Linked DNA regions of Homo sapiens: region 2 is linked to region 1. Evidence: promoter capture Hi-C in 16 types of primary human blood cells and fetal thymus (Javierre and others, 2016). All regions are on one chromosome and are shown on one strand. The core of a region is centred on a gene start or on the middle of the fragment in contact, and the rest is flanking DNA. Distances in the headings are between cores, read along the strand shown.

The links. Contacts are between HindIII fragments. The CHiCAGO score rates a contact against its expected background, and 5 or more counts as called.
Region 2: a contact is called between a fragment that was not itself captured here and the fragment with the promoter of ADCY9 in region 1, in 5 of 17 cell types (M1 macrophages, M0 macrophages, M2 macrophages and 2 more). The highest score is 11.2, in M1 macrophages.

The regions. Positions count from the first base shown.
Region 1 is chr16:4,112,608-4,120,102 of GRCh38, forward strand. It overlaps ADCY9 (adenylate cyclase 9), which reads right to left and starts at 3,835. Exons shown (of 11, transcript NM_001116.4): 1 at 3,083-3,835; 2 at 1,143-2,878. The coding sequence starts at 2,835. RefSeq lists silencers at 769-979, 3,973-4,042. The HindIII fragment of the contact is 5,610 bases long and covers 1,073-6,682 here.
Region 2 is chr16:4,255,997-4,263,491 of GRCh38, forward strand. It overlaps TFAP4 (transcription factor AP-4), which reads right to left. Exons shown (of 7, transcript NM_003223.3): 2 at 6,540-6,705; 3 at 6,328-6,426; 4 at 5,783-5,953; 5 at 4,459-4,599; 6 at 4,094-4,249; 7 at 1,190-2,253. The coding sequence ends at 2,059. Among named protein-coding and RNA genes, the nearest start is that of LINC01569, 6.0 kb to the left of the region's middle. The HindIII fragment of the contact is 217 bases long and covers 3,458-3,674 here.

The DNA.
Region 1 (7,495 bases), core at 2,585-5,084:
GAACTATTAATTACTTCTTCCGAGGATTCCCTTTCCTGAGGCTTTTAACTGTTTAAGTATGCAGTGTGTGGGGACCACAAAATACAATACAGCTTCACAAAAGCAGGCTTTTAAAAAAAATCAGTGTTATTTTCTCTACATACTTCCACAACAGATGTTCCCCTCAATCCTGAAGATTTTAGTAAAACATAAGGACTGTTTAAAAAGGAGGAAGTGGGGGAAGAAATGTAGCAGATTACTTAAAATCTTTCTTTTTCGTCCTACTTATTTTAATATCATTTTCCAGATCTCAAAGACTTTTGTCCTATATTAGAAAAAACAAGCAGCCCAGTAAAAACATCAAGAATAGCAGTAAGGAGCTTCAAACCAGGGACCAGGCACCAGATCCAAACCTGAGAGGATGAGGGAGGGGAATACCAGCTCTCCGGCAGGTACGTTTCTCCCTTCCAAATCACCTGGTGGCTGGAGAAGCTCAATATGAAGCTCTTCACTTAAGGCAAATACTATGATAATAAAATATCCTTAAACAAATGATGGCTGAAAGCTGAAAATGCAAACTTTTTTTAAAAAAAAAAAAAGACCTAGATAAAAGACAGTGTGTACTCAGAGGTAAGTAACTCCGTCTAATTCTCCAGAGACCTGCAGGACTGCGCCGACTTCCTATCCCTATTTTGAGGATAAGCAAAGTGAGGCCTAGAGAGGAGAAAGATTTTATTCTCCACGTTTTCGCAAAAAGGGCAGAGAGAAACATTTGGATGGGACTTCAGGGTGACCAAATGAATGCAAAGGCAATTTCCTTAAGTGCTAAACAGTGCTGAATGCTGAAGGGCTCCATACCCTTACATTCACCGGACGTGCCCCCACATTTCAGCCAACCAGTGGTTATGCACGTTCAAAGTTCTCCTTCCTTCTAAAGGTCGCGTCTAGGTCATCTCTGCACAGCGTCCCTTTCTGCAGTGTGAACAGATCTGTGATATTTGACCCGCTGAAAGAAAAGTCACACTGACCCTGAGATCCCCCCATGGTAAGGCATTCTGAGATACCTGAGCTGTCTGCAGACACTGAGGCTGGAAGCTTTTTTTTTTAATTTAATACAATCAGGATCAGGGAGGGGGGATGCCGAGGTAAAGCAGTGCACATACCTTTCAACTGGTCAGCAACCACGCTCTGGCCCAGCCGTTCAATAACTTTCCCATCTTCCATTTCGTACCGGTCATCTAAGTATTTTGCGGTGGCCTCAGAAATGTGAACTTTGCCGGCCACTCCCAGCTGCTCCATGAGATTGGCCAGGTTCACATCGTTGGACCACACGTCAAATTTAAACCTCCTCATGCCCAGGATGCCGCAAAGGACGGTGCCCGTGTGCACCCCGACTCTCATGTTCACCATCTCCTTCTTCTCCTGGCAGAACTGCTCGATGGCCTTGATCATGCCCAGGCCCATCTCGATGCAGCAGTAGGCATGGTCGGCCCGGGGCTCGGGACAGCCCGCCACGCAGTAGTAACAGTCTCCCAGGGTGCTGATTTTCTCACACTTGGTCTCCTCACACAGGCGGTCGAAGCGACCGAACAGATCGTTCAGGAGACCCACCAGGGCGTGGGCAGACTTGTTGGCACTCATCTTGGTGAAGCCCACGATATCTGCAAATAAAATACTGACTTCTTCGATCTGCTGCATCTTAAAAGGGCGGAAGGCTATAGGAGCTTTTTGGATGGAAGACTTTTTCTTCCTGTTCTTGGGGCTCGAGGTGGCATGCCTCTTGACAGAATTCTCACTCTCCTCATCTCCCTGCTTCATTAAGTCATCGGCTATGATTCTTGGCATCACGGAATGAATCATCCTCTCTTTGAGGGCTTTTTCCACTTCCAGGTCCTTCCCGTGCATAATGGATTGCCCCACCTTGAGGAAGGTGCTCCTGGACCTCACCTGGGACATGACGAACAGGTGGACCCCGATGGCGTGGATGCAGCCGTGGAGCAGCCCCCTGCTCAGCAGCTCCCAGTGCAGGGCCCCGGCTCCGGGCGAGGGGAAGCAGGCTTCATCCCGGAAATGGTAGCCAAAGGTCTCGAAAAGGACAGAGTAGGCCACCCCCAGACACAAACTCAGGTACAAAGGTAAGTGCATGACGGTATAGAGCAAAAAGAGCACTTCGATGCACATGGAGAAGCTCCCCACTTGAGATAAGCAAGTATCTGTGGGCCGGGCTGTGGCCGTAAGGTTGGAGCTGTCGCCGCGTCCTGAGACAGGCGTCAAGACCTGGAACTGCGCAGCCAGGGTCAGGGCGAACACCAGCAGGGTGAGAGCCAGCGAGGTCCACGCGTAATGCCGGGCGTACAGCTTGGTGAAGGTAAACAGAAAGAAGCCCACACACACCAGGAGGAAGCACAGCGCGGGGGCGACCATGACGATCAGTCTGGATCTCATGTGGACCGCAAAATAGATGCTCCACAGAAGGCAGGCGAAGCCGATGTAGAAGAGCGCATACCGGAACCGGCGCTGGGTCTGCGGGAAGCAGCGCTCCAGGCAGGCCTCCTCCAGGTTCACCGAGTCGAACTTGGGGTCCCACCAGCGGCTGGAGGCCCTCTCGAACAGCTGGGGCAGCTTCTTCTGCCTGCGCAGCCGGCCTCCGCCGCCCACTCGCCGGGGGACGCCCCCGGAGTCCCCAGAGCTGCTGCAGCTAGAGGAGATGCTGTATTTGCAGTGCTTGGGGTGGCTGTTGGAGGACAGCTGCTTGGGGTTGATCTTGACGCGCACGCTGTTGCTGTCCCCGCTGGAGTCGCAGCTCACCTCGGTGCTGTGGTGATGCAGCAGCTGCTGGTGGGGTGGGGAAGCCATGTTGTCGAGTCCCGGGGCCTGCCCCGGCCGGGGTCACCAGTACCTGCCAGCAAAACGGGGAGAGTTAGCGGCGCTCCCACCTAGGCATGCACGCCTAGAGGCCCGGGACCTGCTCCTGTCCTAAGGGGCGGCTCCAGCACGCGACCTGGACAGGCACCATCTGTTCCTGTGGTTCCCGGCTCAGCGGTGCTCCCACCGCCCCCACCGCCCCCACCTTCGAGGCGCACGAGAACCGCTCGGGACGGACCTAGAACGCCCGGGGGTCCCCGCCGCGTGGCCGCCGTGGCTCCGGGACCGCTTTGCTCGCTCGCCTTCCGCGCCTCTCGCCCCGAGGGTGGCCTCCGCGCCGCGCGGCTTCTCCTCCTCGCGCGCTCGCCTCCTCCAGCTGCGGCTCCGGAGGGAAGTTCAGACCTTGAGCGCTCCCAGCCCCGCGAGCCGCCTGCGCACAAACAACTCCGCTGGCGGCGCGGAGCCCTCCATCCTGCAGGAGCCGCGCTCCGATGCGTCAAAGGCGGCGCGCGGCCGGCCCCGGGCCCGGACCCCGACCCGGAGCAGCGAGCTTCGGCGGGCGCCCCCGGCTCGCGCTCCCCGGCCGCCCCCCGCGCTCCGGGCCGGCCCTGCCCGCGGCGGCGGGCGCTGGGGGTGGGGGCGCCCCGGGCTGCGAGTGCGCGGAGCCCGTCGGCGCGGCCCGTCTAGTGGGGCCTGCTTCCCCCCGAGTGCGCCGCCGCTCCCGCCGCGGCCGCAGCTGTCCCGGGACCGAGCGCGTGGAACCACGGACGCGGGCCCCTCGCCGGGCGGCGGTGCAGACGCTGCCGCAGAGCCGGGCTCCCGCGACGCCGGCCGGGACGCCCGCCCGCCCGCGCCCACGCCGGGGGCCGCCTCCCCGAGCTAGAGATGCGGCCGCCGCCGCGCCCGCCGCCGTGTCCCCCGCGGCCGCTGCCTCATGTCGGAAGAGCTGCCGCCGCCACCATCTCCGGCCCCTGCCCCGCCCGCTGTCACTGACAGACGCGCGCCCGCGCCGCCCCTCGCCCAGCCGCAGCGCGCACGCGCGGCCCGCGCTCGCCGCCACCGCCTCCTGGCCCCGGACACGCGCACGGGCCGCGCGCCGCCCCGCCTTGGTGCGCGCGCTGGGCTGGGGCTGCGGGGCGGGGCGGGGCGGGGCGGGGCGCGCGCTCGGCTCCGCCCCCCGCCCCGGGCGGCGCCGCTTCTAGGCGGCGGGCTGTGGCCGCTGTCCGCGCTCCGGGCGCTGTGGGCCCGCCCTCCCTCGGCGTCCCAGAGGCCGCGCGCCGCCCGGGGTCCCGACCCTGCGGAGAGACCTGAAGGCGCCTGCCGTGGAAGAAGCCGCTGGCCGCAACGTTTGGGAAATCAAAATGTTGCCTTCCCACTCGGCACGCCTTTGGGATAAATCGAAGTTTCCAACCGTTGGATTTCCCTCCCGGGAGGCTCCCCTTGCTCTGTAAGCAATGAATGCGGGCCCCGGGGCACTCGGCCTGCCCTGGACCTGCTCACGGGGCGACCTTCACGGGCCTAGCCTCCAAAGCTGGGCCCACCGACGACCACGTTCCCCCGCCCCAGGGGTAGTTTACCTTGCTGTCCTTGAGCCCTTCTCCCCCTCCTCATGAACTACTGCTTTTCCTTTTACACAAATGAGACTTTCAAAGGAGTCCGCGTCCCATAATGGCAGTTGTGCATTGGCCTCCATAAACATTGCCACGTGTAAATAAAATCCTATTCTCTCTAGCATGCAGATCCCGACCCCTTCTCCCCACACTCCACAGTGCCTCCTGCCAGTCACGGGGCTCTCTTCCATCCCCTCCCTCGCCTCCCAGGCCCAGCGCCGGGGCCCACACCAGGTCTCACTGTTGAATTAGAAAATAAAAGTAAAATGTGATCTGTCCATGCAATGGAATATTATTCGGCTACAAAAAGGAATGGAGCACCGATGCATGCTGCAGTGTGGAGGAACCCGGGAAACGTTATGCTAGTGAAAGAAGCCAAACAAAAAAGGCCACATAGCGTATGATTCCATCCAGATGAAATGTCTCGAATTGGCAAATCCGTAGAGGCGACACAGATTGGAGGTTGCCAGGTGCTAGGGGAGGAAGATAAGCAGCTTGGGGTTTCGTTTTAGGATGATGAAAAAGTCTAGAAATGATCCAACAGGATGAATCTACATACTGCCCTTGAATCATACACTTTAAAGTGGTTTAGGCCGGGAGCGGTGGCTCACGCCTGTAATCCCAGCACTTTGGGAGGCCGAGGTGGGCGGATCACCTGAGGTCGGGAGTTCGAGACCAGCCTGACCAACACGGAGAAACCCCATCTCTACTAAAAATACAAAAATTAGCCGGACGTGGTGGCACATGCCTGTAATCCCAGCTACTCGAGAGGCCGAGGCAGGAGAATTGCTTGAACCCGGGAGGCGGAGGTTGTGGTGAGCTGAGTTCGCACCATTACACTCCAGCCTGGGCAACAAGAGTGAAACTCCATCTCAAAAAATAATAATAAAATAAAATAAAGTGGTTTAAATGGTAAATGTTATGTTGAGTGTATTTTACCACAATAAAGGAGGAAAAAACTAAAAGCAACATATTGTGGTGGTATTCCTGCAGAAGTGTGTAATCTCAATCCAATCGCAAGAAAACACCAGACAAACCCAGATTGAGACCTGTTCTACAAAGTGATTAACCAGTACCCATCAAAAGTGTCCTTGGACACTTTGGGTCTTGAAAGACAAAGACTGAGAAACTGTCACAATCTAGGAATCGTCCCTAAGGGGATAGATACAACAACTAAATGGAACATGGGATGCTGGTTGGGAACATGGAACAGGAAAGGACAGTAGCAGGAGAGCGGGCAAAATTCACATAAGATCTGCAATTTCCTGGTTCTGATCCTCTTACTATGGTTAGGTAAGACGTTAACATTTTTAGGGGAAGCTGGGCCCTGTGCAGTGGCTCACACCTGTAATCCCAGCACTTTGGGAGGCTGAGGCAGACAGACCACCTGAGGTTAGGAGTTCAAGACCAGCCTGGCCAGCATGGTGAAACCCCCGTCTCTACTAAAAATACAGAAATTAGTTGGGCATGGTGGTGTGCGCCTGTAATCCCAGCTACTCAGGAGGCTGAGGCACAAGAATCACTTGAATCCAGGAGACGGAGTTTGCAGTGAACCGAGATCATGCCACTGCACTCCAGCCTGGGCAACAGAGCAGGACTCCATCTTGGGGGAAAAAAAATTAGGGGAAGCTGGATGTAGGATACAGGGAAACTCGCTAGTATTTCTGCAACTCTTCAAGTCTAAAACTATTTCAAAATAAGTTTATCTAAAAATTTAAAAAATAAACCTTTAATGAACATCAATTCTATGCCAGGCACTCTCACATACGAGGTTCAGAAACGCATGGTGTGTCACATGCATTCGCTTAGTAAATGGGATAACAATAGTGAACTAACATTGACCGAACACGTCATAAATGCCAGAAACTACTGGACATTTTCACCTGTGACACATTTGGTCATTGCCACAACCCTCTGAGGTAGATACTATTGTCCCTTGTTTAGAGAGGTGAAACCCAGGATTGAAGAGAAACGCACCCTAGGTCTCCCACTAAGGGTGATGAGTTCAGATGGAAAACCAGGTCTCAGAATTCTGAGGCCATGACGCCTTGTGTGACCCTGGCACTACCCTCTGCAAGCCTCACGATGGCCCAGCACAGACTGTACCTGTCTCATCCATCAGCCCAACTGGATGGGAGGCCCTCAGAGCCAGGACTCACAGCTTCCGTCTTCCCTTGCTGGCTGCAACGCTGTGCTCCCTGCTTCCTGGTTTCCTGAAACGATCTGAAAGCTTGCCTGTCTGCACTTCTTTCCTCCTCCCTAAATCATTTGTGGTAACTTATGTGTTTGTAAGTTAGTCACGTCGGATTTTTAGACACAAGTAATGGTCATACTCACCTCCCTACTTCTCTGGAAGCAATTCGGCCACATTGCCTGCTGTGGAAACCTATAAGCTGACAAGCCTCCCCAGTCTCCAGGTCAGGGAGTGAATCATGCCATCAACCCCGGGGGACTGGGGCTGTGGTGCCAGCACTGTGTGTCAGGCCCTGGAGGTACAAGGATATGCCATCCATATCTTTTCTTTTCTTTTCTTTTTTTTTTTTTTTGAGACGGAGTCTCGCTTTGTCACCCAGACTAGAGTGCAATGGTGCGATCTCGGATCACTGCAACCTTTGCCTCCCGGGGTTCAAGCAATTCTCCTACCTCAGCCTCCAGTGGAGCTGGGATTACCACCATGCCCAGCTGATTTTTGTATTTTTAGTAGAGACAGGGTTTCACCATATTGGCCAGGCTGGTCTCGAACTCCTGACCTCATGATTCACATGCCTTGGCCTCCCAAAAGTGCTGGGATTACAGGCGTGAGCCACCGTGCCCAGCCGCCATCTGTTTCTTTAAGGGGCTTAGGAACGATGTCCAGGGGAGGGGTTGGGTTAAGAAGATGGGATCAATTAGGCTTTCTGAAGGATTGGATGTGAAGGAGAGTTCTATAAAGGAGGTTAACCATCTTCTCATAATGCCAAGACCCAAAGGGAAGTCACTGGAGGGTTCTGGGTTCTTCTTGACCTCCCAGAAGCATAAAGGTACCCGATTCACAGAAGATA
Region 2 (7,495 bases), core at 2,316-4,815, 140 kb after region 1:
GCTTGAACCTGTGAGGCAGAGGTTCCAGTGAGCCAAGATCGTGCCATTGCATTCCAGCCTGGGTGACACAGCAAGACTCCATCTCAAAAAAAAAAAAAAAAAAAAAAATTAGCCAGGCTTTGTGGTACAGGCCTGTAGTCCTAGCTACTAGGGAGGCTGAGGTGGGAGGATCACTTGAGACCAGGAGGTCAAGGATGCAGTGAACTGTGATCAAAACACTGCACTGCAGCCTGGGCGACAGAGCAGGACCCCATCTCACACCAAAAAATAATAATAAAAATTTAAAAATAGCCAGGCATGGTGGCTCATCCCTTTAATCCCAGAACTTTGGGAGGCCGAGGTAGGCGGATCACTTGAGGTCAGGAGTTCAAGACCAGCCTGGTCAACATGGTGAAACCCTGTCTCTACTAAAAATACAAAAATTAGCTGGGCATGGTGGTGCACTCCCGTAGTCCCAGCTACTTGAGAGGCTGAGGCAAGAAGATTGCTTGAACCCAGGAGATAGAGGATGCAGTGAGCCGAGATCACGCCACTGCACTCCAGACTGGGAGACAGAGACTCTGTCTCGAAATAAAGGACCATGCCAATCCCCAATAGGATGCAATGTCCTTGTGCCGTTATTATCGCCAATTTTTAGAAGAAGAAATTGAGGCTCAGAGGAAGCGGTTTGTCAGAGGGGGAACTGACCTCTGGCAGACCAATTCCAGGATCTTAGCACTTAAACACCACACCACGGGGGGGCAGGGGGGTGCTGGGGGGGTGCGGTTGGAGGGGGTGGGGTTCCCCTCCTAGGGGAGGAGAGGATGAGGCTCAGAGAAGTTACAGAAGCCCAGGAAGTGGCAAAACCTAGGGATTAACCAAAGCGTAGGGACCAAGCAGGGCCCCTGAACACCTGTGTCCTTTCCCAGGTTTTCGGAATCGGTGGCTTGGTTGTCCTTCTCTCCTTGCCGCCCACCAAAGAGCCACTCCCCAGCCTCAACACCATCTTCCATCTTTACAGAATACCCAGGGTCATCCCAGGGAAACTGAGGACCCCAATTTTTCATCGCAACACCACACACAAGCTGAGGGAGTAACTGTGCTCACACACACCCAGTCCGCTTTGGGGGGCCCAAGGAGCCCCCCTACTCTAGATGGGGTAGCCCTGCCCTGGTCTTCAGGCCAGCCCACACCCAGGAGACTCAGAATCTAAAAAACAAAGTACAAACTTTATTTTGTTTCTTTACAAAGGCACGGTGGCCTCTTGGTTTTTTTCTCCCCACTTTCTTAACAAAATATAATAGCTTCTCCTTGAACACGAAGACCTCAAAATTGTAAAAAAAAAAAAAAAAGAAAGAAAAAAAAGAAAAACAAAACAAAAACAGAAAGCAAACCAAAAAGAAATAAAAAACCAACAACAAACAAAACAAAAAGAGAGAGACAGACATTTTTGGGGTGGAAGATGAGACCTGGAGGCAGAGGTGGGGGCTGGGGGGTGGGAGAGTGGCGAATTCTAGTGCCGAGATGGGGAAGGGGGAGGGGGGCACAGCAGCAGCAAACCCCAACCAAGAAGCAACGGAGACCTCCGGGCCCCCAGAATGCCCCAGCCTAGTCTTACCCCCAACCATGTAAGTGCTTAAAGGAGAAAGAAGAAAACCCAAAAAGAGGAAGGAAAGGGGATTGAAGGCTGACAATCCCAGGCTGGCTCTGGGCAGGGAAGAAATAACCTGGGGTTTTGTTTAATTTTCCCTGTTCTTAAAAAACATATTTAAAGGAAAAAATGCTTTTTGGCAGAGAGAGGCCAGGCATCTCCGTGTCAGCTTCCTCCAGCCCCCGGGGCCGAGGCCCCGCCCTGGGGTGCCGATGCTCCCACACGCTCTGCGACACCCCAGCCCCGGGACCTCGGGTTGAGTGGCTTCGTTCAAAGGTCGATTTACAGTATTGAAAAAGAGGTCATAAAAGAGACCCAAATGACATCGTAATTTTGTAAAAATTTCTCACTCATTCGCCCATGTCTCTCCCTGTGGCTGCCCCGGCTCCCTCCAGCCCCCAGAAGGGAGAGGAGGGCTGGGGGGGTAGTCAGGGAAGCTCCCCGTCCCCCGACGGCTCCTCCCGGCTCTGGTCCATGGCGTCACTGTCTGAGGCCTCGGAGTCGGAGGCGGTGTCAGAGGTGGGGGCCTCCGGGCAGCTGCGGACAGGCTTCACGATGACAGCTCGCCGCTGCTCCTCCTCCAGCTCCTGCTTTTCCTGGGTGCCCTCGATGTGCTGGATTGCCTGGACAGGGACGAACCACTGAGAAGGCTCGGCCGGGGATACATGGCCAGCCAGGAGACAGTGGGGGCTCTCAGCCAGCCACTGTCACCCCCAAAACACATAGCCCAGAAAAAAGCCTGGCAAAGCAGCAGGGGAGGCCCGCTAGAGTACAGGAAAAACAAACTCCTTTTACTTTTTTTTTGGAGACAAGCTCTCGCTATATCACCCAGGCTAGAGTGCAGTGGCATGATCATAGCTTACTGCAGTCAGACTCCTGGGCTCCAGCGATCCTCCTACTGCTCCCTCCCTAGTAGCTGGAACCACAGGGGTGCGCCACCATCCCCAGCTAACTTCTGTATTTTTGGTAGAGACGAGGGGGTTCTTGCTATGTTGCCCAAGCTGATCTCGAACTCCTGACCTCAGGCAATCTTCCTGCCTCAACCTCCAAAAGTCCCGGGATTACAGGCATAAGCCACCACGCCTGACCCAGGAACAAACTTTCAAAACCCCTCTGTTAAGTTGAAAAATCCATTCTGGGAAGATGACAGTCCCAGTGCTGCTTAGAAATTATATTATATGTATCAGCCAGGCGCAGTGGCTCACGCCTGTAATCCCAACACTTTGGGAGGCCAAGACGGGAGGATCACCTGACGTCAGGAGTTCGAGACCAGCCCCTCAACAGAGGCCAGAAGCCTACTAAAAATACAAAATTTGCCAGGCGTGGTGGCACATGCCTATAATCCCAGCTACTTGGGAGGCTGAGGCAGGAGAATCACTTGAACCTGGGAGGAGGAGGTTGCGATGAGCTGAGATAGCACCATTGCACTCCAGCCTGGGCAATAAGAGCGAAACTCTATCTCAAAAAAAAAGAAAAAAAAAGAAATAATATGGACCTTTCATATGTTTTTGTTTGTTTGTTTTTTGAGAAAGAGTCTCACCGTGTCACCCAGGCTGGAGTTCAGTGGTGCAATCTCAGCTCACTGCAACTTCCACCTCCCATGTTCAAGCGATTCTCCTGCCTCAGCCTCCCGAATAGCTGGGATTACAGGCGTGCACCACCACGTCAGGCTAATTTTTGTATTTTTAATAGAGATGGGGTTTTCACCATGTTGGCCAGGCTGGTCTCGAACTCCTGACCTCAAGTGATCCACCCACTTTGGCCTCCCAAAGTGCTGGGATTGCAGGTGTGAGCCACCACACCCGGCCATATGTTTATGTATTTTAAAGCTTGCCTATTAACTTATTAAAGGCGTTTGTTATTAATTGTATTACACAATTTGCAAAGTTTATGAGCAATTAAAATTCGAGGAGATTGATGGATTTTTTTTCCTGTTTTGGCTTTTTTGGTTATTTATTTATTATTTACTGATTTCTGATCTTGGGCTCCTCAAGGGGCCCTGTTCAAGGGTGAATGCAACTGTAACTTCAGGCTTGACCCACAAAGCTTCCTCCTCTGTAGGAGGCCCAACTATCACCAGCCCTGCCACCTGTATCTCCATCCAGGTCCTAGGAGATGGAGCTGAGACAATGTTCCGGACCAACCCAAGAGCTGGATGCAGGAACTCTGTAACCAGGGGGCTCTGGGAGCAAAGGACCCTCTCCGGAAACCCCATATTGAGGGAAGGGACAGTCTTCCTGGCCAACTCCTCCTACTGGCGTGGTAGGCCCTGCCCCGATCTCTGGCCCTCACATTCTCCACTTGCAGATCCAGGGACGGGGCCCCCCAAGGCTTCCAGCCCTCCACCCCTTCCCACACAAGCACCATCTTCCTCCGCTTCTGCCCCTCTTTTCCAGTCTCCCCTAAAGAGCCTGTTCCCGGAGTATGACCCCCACAAGCTGCCCCTTTCTCAAGCTCAGGTACCTGCACGATGGTGTCCAGATTTTGCCGGGATGTGGAAACAGAGTTGATGACCGAGGAGGGGCCCATGGTGACGACATTGATGTGGTGGGAGGGAGGAGGAGGCGGTGCTGGCACGATCACCGTGGGGTGGTGGGTGGGGGCCGGAGGGGGCAGAAGCTGCAAGACAGAGGCCCTCAGCCTTTCTCTCAAGGCTTCTCTTGGCCCATCCACCTCCCTTTCATGCAGAGCTGGCCAATGTATAACTGCCTCTGCCCCTTTATATTAAGAAGCAGAGAGGACGTGGCCTAGGGAGAGGCTTCCGCCATTCAAGATCACCTGTCCCCTTCCCGGTCCCCAGAGCCCACTCCCGGGCGCCTCCTGCTCACCTGGGTCCGCAGCTGCTGCTGTTCCCGCTCCAGCTTCTCCTGGTGCAGCAGCCTCACCTGTTCCTGCTGCTGCTGCAGCTGCACCTGCTGCGCAATCACCTTGAGCTTTTCCGGGTACATGTGGGCCTCCAGCGAGCGCACCTGGAGGCAGGACAACCTGGGCTCAGGGCCAAGGCCGGGAGCACACCCTGCCCTGTCAGTCTCACAGCAGCTCATTCACTCCTGCTGAAAACCCTAGCACAGGGCGGGCCCCTCTCAACAGAGGCCAGAAGCCTTTCCAGAGCCCTTCAGCCCCCGGCTCCTCTCGCCTCCCACCTCGGCCTCCACTGGACCATGCTCCCTCCTGCCCGAGTCTTTGCCTATGCTATTCCCTCTGCCGGGAACACCTTTCTCTGTCCTTTGGTTAACTATGAGACTCAACTTCCCACTTCCATGGAGATGCCGTGGGGCGTCCCTTGAAAAACCCCTCCTGATGCCACAGCTCCAGCCTGGCCTTCAATATGGTTTTTTGTTTTTGTTTTTTGGTTTTTTTGAGCCATGGTCTCCTTCTGTCACTCAGGCTGCAGTGTAGTGGCACAATCATGGCTCACTGCAGCCTCCACCTCCTGGGCTCAAGCAATCCTCCCAGCTCAGCCTCCTGAGTAACCGGGACTACAGGCACACCCCACCACACCTGGCTAATTTTTGTATCTTTTTTGGTAGAGACAGAGTCTCACTATGCTTCCCAGGCTGATCTCAAACTCCTGGGCTCAAGCGATCCTCCCACCTCAGCCCCGCAAAGTGCTGGGATTATAGGTGTGAGCCACCATACCCAGCCCATCACGGTTACATTTTTTTTTTTTTGAGATGGAGTCTCGCTCTGTCTCCCAGACTGGAGTGCAGTGGCACGATCTCGGCTCACTGCAAGCTCTGCCTCCCAGGTTCACGCCATTCTCCTGCCTCAGCCTCCCAAACAGCGGGGACTACAGGCACCCACCACCACGCCCGGCTAATTTTTTTTTTTTTTGTATTTTTAGTAGAGACGGGGTTTCACCGTGTTAGCCAGGATGGTATCGATCTGCTGACCTCAGGTGATCCACCCGCCTCGGCCTCCCACAGCATGGTTACATTTTTGAGATCCTTTGGCTAATCTCCCCCACCCCAACGCAGACGGTGGCCCCCAAGGGCAGAGACGTGTCTGGCTTGCTCCCCACTCCTAGGCCTGGCACCGCAGTAGGTGCTCCTGTAAATAGGGCTCCACCGAGGGCCGCAGAGCAAGAGGCGCGACCCCAGGCTCCACGCCCTCTGCACCGCGCGCCGTGCCCAGCAGAGGGCGCTGCCTCACCTGCTCCTCCAGCATCATGCGCACCGAGCGCTCCTTGTCCAGCTGCTGCCGCAGCTCAATCATCTCCCGCCGCAGGTCCTCCGCCTTCTCGTCCTCCCAGATGTCCGGGGAGCCTATGCCTTCGTCCTTGTCCTCTGCCCGCCGTCGCTTGGGGGACGAGCCGCTCAGCTCCTGGGGACCCCAAGGAGTCGGTCAGTGTGCCTGACACCTCGGTACCACCACGGAGATTGGGGTTCCATCGCAGCCCCCCAAAGCTGCCCAACACAGGTGAATCTTCATTAGGGAGCCCCTTCTGCAAGTCCAACAAACCAGCCAAATGCCAGGAGAATGGGCTGCTTTACATAACAGTCACCTGGCTCCTTCCAGAGCCCACTCCACCGCACTTGACCGATGGGGAAACTGAGGCCGGGGCAGGAAAAAAAGTGCCTGGAAGTACTTGTCAGTGGGCAAGAAGGGGCCTGCAGCCACACCTGAGTCCCAGGCCCATGGCTGGGTCCAAGGCATGCCCATGCCAGGGAGAGGGAGCCATGAAGGACAGGGCGCACCTGGATGAAGCGCTTGAGCTGTGTGTTCTGCTGCAAGAGCCTGGTCTTCTCCTGCTCCAGGGAGAAGATGTACTCGGCTGTCTGCTGGAGAATGGCTGCCTGAGGGCGTGGAAAAGCCGAGAGTCAGGCTGGCAGTGTTTACCAGAGCTCACTTTCCTCTCCCAGCGGGAACCTGCCGGCTCCTCCAGGAAGCCCTCCCTGCTCTCACCCACCTTGCTGAGCTTCTCTCCGTCTGTGTGGGGGATGAGGGTCTTGAGGGACTGGAATCCCGCGTTGATGCTCTGCATGCGTCTCCGCTCGTTGCTGTTGGCGATCTCCCGCCGAATCCGCCGCTCCTGGTCCCGCTGAGTCTCGGGGGTTAGTGGAATGTTGGCAAGGCTGCCAGAGAGGACAGGGACAGGCTCGGCCAAGGCGCCCTCTTCATCATTCATCTCCAGAGGGCCCCAGTGGAAACTGCATCCCTCCCCTGCTGCAAAAGATGCCAGGCCACCCCCAGAGAGTGATGGAGGGGTGCTCTCTGGGACACCGGGGCGGACTGAATCAGCTGGCTGCGGGTAAGATAGTCCGCTCAGAACCCACCCCGGGCCAGGCACAGTAATCCCAGTTCTTTGGGAGGTCAAGGCCAAGGATCATTGAGCCTAAGAGTTTGAGATCAGCCTAGGCAACGTAGTGAGACCCTGTCTCTACAAAAAAATAAAATTAGCCAGGTGTGGTGGTGCATGCCTGTAGTCCCAGCTACTCAGGAGGCTGAAGTGGGAGGATCGCTTGAGCCCAGGAGTTGGAGGCTGCAGTGAGCTATGATCACGCCACTGCACTTCAGTCTGGGCAACAGAGCAAGACCTTGTCTCAACAACAACAACAAAAACCCATCCCCTCCCTGGCTTTCCTCACAGGGAGCAGTCTCTCCTCCGGAACAGAATTCCCAGTGTGTCTGAGCATCAAAACATCCAAGAGCTTAGAAACTATGCAGACGACGGGTGCTGGCCCCAGCGTCTGACTAGCAGGCCCGGTGGGGCCCAGAAACGTGCGTGGTGTGATTCTGATGCACGCGGGATGCAGACGACATTCAGGGACGCTGTCCCCGCTCCTGGAACACTTCTGAGTGATTTGCTAGGCACCTGGAGCGCCTCTTCAGCGTCTCAGGCTTTGCCACCCCAGGACTGAGGAA